Linked DNA regions of Homo sapiens: regions 1 and 2 are each linked to region 3. The links are contacts of gene promoters, found by promoter capture Hi-C in blood cells and fetal thymus (Javierre and others, 2016). All regions are on one chromosome and are shown on one strand. The core of a region is centred on a gene start or on the middle of the fragment in contact, and the rest is flanking DNA. Distances in the headings are between cores, read along the strand shown.

Region 1 (2,700 bases), core at 57-2,556, 1.5 Mb before region 3:
TCACGAGGTCAGGAAATCAAGACCATCCTGGCTAACAAGGTGAAACCCTGTCTCTCCTAAAAATACAAAAAATTAGCCAGGCGTGGTGGCAGGTGCCTGTAGTCCCAGGTACTCGGGAGGCTGAGGCAGGAGAATGGCGTGAACCCAGGAGGCGGAGCTTGCAATGAGCTGAGATCGCGCCACTGCACTCCAGCCTGGGCGACAGAGCGAGACTCCGTCCAAAAAATAAAAATGAAAATAACAGAAAGTAACAAGTATTGGCGAGGATATTGAGAAGTTAGAACCATTGTGAAGTGATGTAGCCCTTGTGGAAAACAGTTTGGTAGTTCCTCAAAAAGGTATACAGAATTATCATACGATTTAACATCCTGGGTATATACCTCAAAAAACCGGAAAACAGGTACTCAAATAATTGTACAGTAATATGCATAGCACCACCATTCACAATAGCCAAAAGGCAAAGCAACCCACATGCCCGTCAACAGATAAATAAAACGTGGTAGGCACCTACCATGGGATATAATTCAGCCATAATACCGCAATGCTACATGCTTCATTCTACCATGGGGATGAACTCAAAAACAGTATGAGAAGTGAGACGACAGACACCAAATGTCATTGATTGTAGGATTGCATTTGTATGGCATATTGGGAAGAGGTAAATCCCACAGAGACAAAAATACTTTAGCTGTTGGCAGGGATTGAAGAGAGGAGGGGAGTGGGGAGTGAGTGCTTCATGGGTACAGGATTTCCTTTCAGGTCACACAAATGCTTTGGAGCAAGCTACAGCGGATTGTTGCGCAGTACAGTGAACGCACCAAATACAACTGAATTCTACACAGTTGAACATCCCTAATCCGAAAATCTAAAATCTGAAATGCTCCAAACTCTGAAACTTTTTTGGGGGGTGGGGGGGATGGAGTTTCGCTTTTTCGCCCAGGTTGGAGTGCAGTGGTGCGATCTCGACTCACCGCAACCTCTGCCTTCCAGTTTCAAGGGATTTTCCTGCCTCAGCCTCCAGAGTAGCTGGGACTAGAGGCGCCCGCCACCACGCCCAGCTAATTTTTGTATTTTTAGTAGAGACGGGGTTTTACCATGTTGGCCAGTCTGGTCTGAAACTCCTGACCTCGTGATCCGCCTGCCTCGGCCTCTCAAAGTGCTGGGATTACAGGCGTGAGCCACCACATCCGGCCTTTAAAAAAAAATTATAAAGAAAAGAGATTTATTTGGCTCACAATTCTGCAGGGTACACAAGAAGCCCGCTGCCAACATCTGCTTCTGATGAGGACCTCAGGAAACTTGTGATCATAGCGGAAGGGGAAGGAGATAAAGCATCGCTTGGCTAGAGTGGGAGGAGGAGGGAGGGAAGGAGGTGTCAGGCTCTTTTTAACAGTCAAATGTTGCAAGAGGCCGGGCGCAGTGGCTCACGCCTGTAATCCCAGCACTTTGGGAGGCCGAGGCGGGCGGATCACGAGGTCAGCAGTTTGAGACCAGCTTGGTGAACATGGTGAAACCCTGTTTCTACTAAAAATACAAAAATTAGCGGGGCATGGTGGTGGGCGCCTGTAATCCCAGCTACTCGGGAGGCTGAGGCAGGAGAATCGCCTGAAACCGGAAATCGGAGATTGCAGTGAGCCGAGATTGCCCACCGCACTCCAGCCTGGGCGCCAAAAGCGAAACTCCGTCTGGTTGCAGGAACCGGTAGAAAAGGAACTCAGTCATTACTGTGAGGACAAGGACAGGACCCAAGCCATTCATGAGGGACCCACCTCCCTGACCCAAACACCTCTCACCAGGCCCCACCTCCACCCAAACGCCTCTCACCAGGCCCCGCCTCCAACACAGGGTCAAATTTCTCCCTCTTTTTTTTTTTTTTTTTTTTAATAATTATTTTTTTGAGACGGAGTCTCACTCTGTTCCCAGGCTGGAGTGCTGCAACCTCCGCCTCCCGGGTTCAAGCGATTCTCCTGCCTCAGCCTCCTGAGTAGCTGGGATTCCAGGCGCGTGCCACCATGCCCAGCTAATTTTTGTATTTTTAGCAGAGACGAGGTTTCCCCATGTTGGTCAGGCTGGTCTCGAACTCCTGACCTCGTGATCCGCCCGCCTCGGCCTCCCAAAGTGGTGGGATTACAGGCATGAACGACTGTGCCTGGCCAATTTCAACATGAGGTTTGGAGAGGACAAATATCCAAACTACATCAACTGTGTTACAGAAGATTCTGCCCGTCTGTAGACTAATGTAAATGTTCTTAGCATGGTTTAAGGCAGGCTAGGCTAAGCTCTGATGCTTGGTAGGTTAGGTGTATTAAATGCATTTTCGACTCATCATCAAAATCTGAAACTTTTTGAATGCTGATATGATGCCACAAGTGGTAAATTCCACACAAAAATACTTATCACAAACTTTGTTTCGTGCACAAAACTATTTAAAATATTGTAAAAAGCTACCTTCAGGTTTTAGTTAATTTTATGTTGAGTGAACTTTACATCAATAAAATAGAATAAATTTTAAAATGACAACAACCACCAGACTCTTGACCCTCTCTCAGGTACCACACTTGAGCCCAGGACCTCTGTGGAGCTGCCTCCATGGGAATCAACCACAGTCCCCAAGAACATCCAGGTTAGTCCTTCATGGCTAAGCCAGTCCTGAGGGGCCAGGAAGCAGTCTATTCCCATTCTACCGTTTATTGAGGCTTG
Region 2 (2,700 bases), core at 44-2,543, 1.6 Mb before region 3:
CTGGGCGTGGTGGTGCGTGCCTGTAATCCCAGCTACTCAGGAGGCTGAGGCAGGAGAATCGCTTGAACCTGGGAGACAGAGGTTGCAACGAGCCGAGATCGCGCCACTGCACTCCAGCCGGAGTGACAGAGTGAGACTCTGTCTCAAGACAATAAATGAATAAATGCAATTAAAAGTTTTAAAAAGTCCCAGATATCACATAATTTTATCTTTTAAAAAGCCTTTAGTTTATATCACTAAAGATAAGGCAATTTTTAAACATACTACAGTATCATCACATCTAAAAATATTAGTAATAATTCCTAGATACCATCAAATAAACAGAAAGTCTAGCTGTCATACCTGTACCCTCCTCTGTTGCCTCCCTCTCCCACAGTAATATTTTTTAGTTTTGATTTGTCCTTCAATTATTTTTTTATGTAAGCAAATAAATATAGTAAATATTTGTTGTTTTTTCCTTCACAGAGAAGAGGTAACCCATTATACACATTTTCTGCATCTGGATTGCACTTAAAAATTATTCTCACTTGACACCAATACATAGAAAACTTTGTTCTTTTTTTCAGCTACATAGTACTCCAACATGTGAAGGTACTTTATTCAACCATTACTCTGTTGATGGACATTTGGGCTATTCCCAGTTTTTTGCTCTTACTAGCAGTGTCATCATGAAAAGCCTTGTGTATATGAATTTCTTATTTTGAGAGCATCTTTGGAATAGATTCCTAGAAGTGGGATTGATGAGTCAAAAGGCAAATGCATATAATGTTGCTAGCTATTGTCAAACTCTCTTCTATAAAGATTATACCACTTAATATTGCCAGCAGAAATGAGTATGGTGTCCTTCTTTATGATTTTTTTGGCCCTCTGAGAAATGAGAAGTAGTATCTCAGTGAGGTTTCAATTTCCTTTTTTTTTTTTCTGTAATCTATATTTTGAGAACTTCATTCTAAGAGAACAAGACTCCTTTTGGACAGTAACACCATTGGAATTGTCAAAAAAGAAAAATCTTCCCTGGTTACATTATGTGTTGAATAAAGAAGTTTTTCTTGCAGATAGGCTTGAGTTGTCAAGTTTTCATTCAGAGCAGCTCAAGCATGGGGAGTTTATGAAAATGGAATCGTTGAAATTCATAGAATGAGAAGCCTCAAAGAGCTCTTTTTACCAGCATATTCCATTGAATACCTTTGGAGACATTCATACCCATCAAATACTCAGAGCATACTTTTTGAGAAGATTAAACCTAACTTAGAAGTTGGAGGTTCTTGGCACAATAAAGAAAAGCAATGCTTAACCCTGAAAGATTAACTGGGGAAAAACATGATACCTTCAGTCAAAACTTTATGGAACTTTTATTTTAAAAAACTTCATTTCACCCTACCCATGACCAAGTACCCCCCAAGAAATGTTTAGAACATATCATTTATATGAGCTGTTTGAATTTAAACACTGAATAAATGCTTGCAAAAGCATATATTTGTCCTAACTTCTATTTTATTTTTAAATCAACTTTGGCATTTTCACACTGTAAAGTGAGTTTTTTATGTGAGGGCTTGCTTTACAGAAATTTCAATATCCCATGTTTACAAAGAAGCACTCACTGAGGATTCAATTCTCTTGCAATTAATTTTCCCAAGTTGCCAGCTAGCAGGCTACCAATCTATGGAGCGTTCAACATTTAGGGATGAACTTTCATGGGCCCTGGGGATGCAAAGATTACTACTTTGTGGTTCCTCGGTAGAGGAGCTGAAAAGTAAACATGTAAATTAAAACAGCCTATGACATAGGACCAACCAGGGTGTGTTGTCATTGTTGACATGTATCTCTACCAGAAAAGTTCACTCTTCTTTATAAATGACAGCATTATTGAGCTGTTACCAACAGTAATTCACATGACCAATGGTGGACAACCAGGACTCCAAGATGGTGTCAGTTGCACCAGTGAAAGAGAGGAAAGTCATGGATGCCTAACTTGGGGAGCTGCCAAGCTGGCTATTGATGTGGGGTTTCACCCTGAAAGGCATGATTGGAGCATTTCAAAGAAGTTACTACCCGCATTAGAACAAGTGCCTCACAGGAAGGAAGGGAGCATTGCAGGGGTTTCTATAGCTGGCAGCTTACAGCTTTTCCTCTATGTTCTTTCTTACAAAGAGCTCAACTGTGAGCAACTCTGCAAGCATCACCTAAGAGGGGCCAGTGAAGGGTGCACTCTGCCCTTCTGACCATGACCTCCTTGGCCCATCACCCCTTTGTGAGAAACTCCATCACTGCTGAATCCTTTTATATCCTAATTGAGAACTAACGCCCAAACAGAAGATGACTGGTATGTGTAAAGAAATACAAATAATAAAATTCACATACCATATAATTCATCTCTTTAAAGTGCACAATTCAATGGGTTTTTTGTGTGTACATTCAGAGTTGTGCAACCATCACCACATTCAATTTTTAGAACAATTCATCACCCCCAAAAAGAAACTGTGCATCCACTCACAGTCACTCACTATTTCTTCCAACCTGCACCCCCCACCCCCAGCCCTGAGTGACCACTAATCTTTGCATTCTCCCTAGATTTACCTATCTGGGATATTTCATACAATGAAATGAAAATGAAATCATACAGTATGCAGTCGTGGTGACTGTCCTCTTTCATAATGTTTTTGAGGTTTGTCAATGCTGTACTATGTATCAGTATTTAAT
Region 3 (2,700 bases), core at 49-2,548:
GCCGGTAAGTTTGGGCACAGTTCAAATGTGAGTCTGTAGCCACTAGAGAGAGGGGTTTCAAAGTCATGGAGAAAAGATGGGGGTGAATCCTGCACCAAGACTTATTGAGGAGAGTTCTTGGGAACAGTTACTTTTAGGATTCCACAGGGAAATCACTGAGCGAGTTTTACAAAATACTGCTGCTGGGTTCCCTCCTCCAAGAGATCTTTACTTAATTGGTTTGGGGTGCAGAGTGGGAATGTGCATCTTTAAAAGCAGAATTCCCAAACTGGAGAGCTCTGTGAGAGCTTCCTGCAGGAGACATTATTTGAACTGAATTTTGAAAGACAAGCTTGCATGCCAGGAACCCCATGTATATGAACAGAGGATATGAAGGAATGTAAATAATTTGCTATGGCTCTAAAGAAAAGAAGGGAGAAATCAAGACGTGAAGAGGCTTACACTCCTTGCTCAATAGTTTCTAATTTATCTTTTTGGATAAGAGGATGTTATAAAGGATTTTAAACTGAGGTATAAAATAATTAGAATTGGAATGTTTACCTGAACTTCAGAGTAGGCAATAGGTTGGCATGGATCAGAACTGTAGGTAGGAAAATTAATTGTTTAGGAGAGACATGAGACATGATAGAGGTGACAGAGTATGGACAGGAGGAACACAAAAGTGATAGAAGTAACAGGACTGTTGATCATTTAGTTAAAAGAACTGCGGAGGGACACACCCAGGTTTCTGAGAGATGTCCAGTAGTACACAGGTAACATCTACGGCTCGAGACAGGTTAGAGATTTTGAAGAAATAAGTTAAAAGTTGAAACATGAACCTATGGATATAGTGGAGGTCATACAAGAAGATCATATTATAATGAAAAGAAGAGGGCTTAGAATGGTAGGAAAGGAATCAGGATACCAAGCAAAGGAGTCAGGAAAGAAGGGAAGGGTGCTCTGGAAATCCTGGGAAGGTCAAAGAAGAAAGGGCTAAATGTCGCCAACAAACAAAATGAAATAAGACCTGGGATGTATTTTTTGGCCAAGGCAATTAGAAAATGATTAGTATCCTTATCAGGAGCAATTTCAGAGAATGTTTGGGTGGACGTCTAACTACAGTGGAGTCAAACGTGAATCAACGGTGAAAAAAGGACAATAGCCAATGTGTACACTTTTTATAAAAACCACCCTCCAAGGACCAGGCACTGGCCCTCTCTCCGGTGCCCACAGACATCCACACAGGCCCAAAGAATCAGGGATTGCACAAGCCAGAGCAATCGAACGGTTCTGAGTCATCTGCCGGAAGCCTTGCCCTCAATCAAGGCGGACGTGAAGCATCTACAAAGGAGGAATAGTCAAAGCAGCAGCGGCGGCGGCGGCGGCGGCAGCAGCAGCAGCAGCAGGAGGTGGGGGCCTCTGCCAGGTACCGGGCGGGGCAGGCACGGAGGTGCCCAGGTTCCCGCGGAGGCCACCTCTTCCCTGGAGTGCGTGAGAGAGGGGAAGGGAGGAAGGCCAGAGCAGGAATCAGAGCGAGGCAAAGGCGGGCAGGAACTAGGAGAATGACGGCGGGAGGCGGCCGGGAAAGAGAGTCGCGGGGCTGTGGGGGTCGCCCTGGCACCAGCCGGGGTCCCAAGCCCCACCGCGAGACCCGGCGAAGGCCGAGGGCCGGGTCCCGAGAACAGGTGCGCCCAGACCCGCCCTGAATAGGAAGCTGCCCCTGGAGAGGGAGCGTCTGTTTCTAGGCTTGCGATTTGCTGCGCTGTGATTTGCTGCCGGATGGGAGCGGGGGGTGACGCGAGCAGTGAGTTTGGAAGCGCCGGAAGCTTGGGCGGGAGCCCCGGGAGGGCGAGTGGGAGGAGCCGCCGCTGCGGAGGAGGCTCCGGGAGTGCGGGTGGCGGGGCCTGGAATTTCCGTGGCGCCTGGGGCAGATCGGGGAGGCGCCGAGTCCCTGCTCCCCTGGCGCCCAAGCTTGCCCCTGTGCTTACAGCCTATTGGTTGCACCTTCTCCTTCCCTTCCTGTCCCCCCCCTCCGTTCTTTCCACCCCTGCCTTCATCTTTCTGTATCTTTCATATTCTCTTCTTCATTGTCTGCTTCCTCTCAAATGGGATGGGGTTGGGGGTGCTTCTTCACCTACGCCCCTCTCTGTTGCAGCCACCGGCGTTACTTTAACCAATTCCTCACTTTCCAGACACTCTCAGTCCTCTGGCTGCTGCTTCACTCCTGAGACCTCTCCATTCCAAAGGGCCTCACCCAGGGCTGCTCTCCGGGCCCCTCCCGCTTCCCTGCCTCGGGCTCTGCGTAGACCGCGCCCTCTTCCCTGGGTCCACTCGCAGGGGCAGACTCGTCTCCCCAGTTCTCCCAGCACACCCTGATGGCTGGGTCTCAGTCTCCGTTTCGCGCGCGCGCTCTCCCCTCGCCCTCCTCTGTCTCTTCCTTTTACTACCTCCAGATATTGGAAATTCCACAGAAATAGGTGGATTTCTTCCCTTGTGCCTCCACTAGATGTTCTGTGTAGTTTCATCCATTCTCATGGAACCTCTCGGAATCGGGATGCTGATGGCTCCAGGTCTCTGGCTCTAGACAGTCTACTCATCCCCGTCCCTAACTGTTTACAAACATCCTTGGCTGTCTTTGTTACAGGTTCACCTGGTATGGTGTGTTCCACGCATCTCAAATGGAACAAGTCATATTCCCCATTCCAGCCTGACTCCTCATTT

Evidence for each region. Contacts are between HindIII fragments. The CHiCAGO score rates a contact against its expected background, and 5 or more counts as called.
Region 1: a contact is called between a fragment that was not itself captured here and the fragment with the promoter of SERPINB8 in region 3, in 1 of 17 cell types (non-activated CD4 T cells). The highest score is 5.1, in non-activated CD4 T cells.
Region 2: a fragment that was not itself captured here is called in contact with the fragment with the promoter of SERPINB8 in region 3 in 2 of 17 cell types (activated CD4 T cells and non-activated CD4 T cells); the score reaches 9.4 in activated CD4 T cells.

What each region holds. Positions count from the first base shown.
Region 1 is chr18:62,502,550-62,505,249 of GRCh38, forward strand. No RefSeq gene overlaps it. Among named protein-coding and RNA genes, the nearest start is that of ZCCHC2, 19 kb to the right of the region's middle. The HindIII fragment of the contact is 7,862 bases long and covers 1-2,700 here.
Region 2 is chr18:62,416,395-62,419,094 of GRCh38, forward strand. No RefSeq gene overlaps it. Among named protein-coding and RNA genes, the nearest start is that of TNFRSF11A, 92 kb to the left of the region's middle. RefSeq lists an enhancer at 1,991-2,040. The HindIII fragment of the contact is 6,401 bases long and covers 1-2,700 here.
Region 3 is chr18:63,968,783-63,971,482 of GRCh38, forward strand. SERPINB8 (serpin family B member 8) reads left to right here and starts at 1,299. Exons shown (of 7, transcript NM_002640.4): 1 at 1,299-1,388. LOC105372165 (a long non-coding RNA gene) reads right to left here and starts at 1,722. Exons shown (of 3, transcript XR_935576.3): 1 at 541-1,722. It also overlaps a transcript of HMSD not described here. RefSeq lists enhancers at 1,131-1,180, 1,211-1,380, 1,673-1,967 and silencers at 1,441-1,640, 1,651-1,710, 1,781-2,000. The HindIII fragment of the contact is 1,474 bases long and covers 330-1,803 here.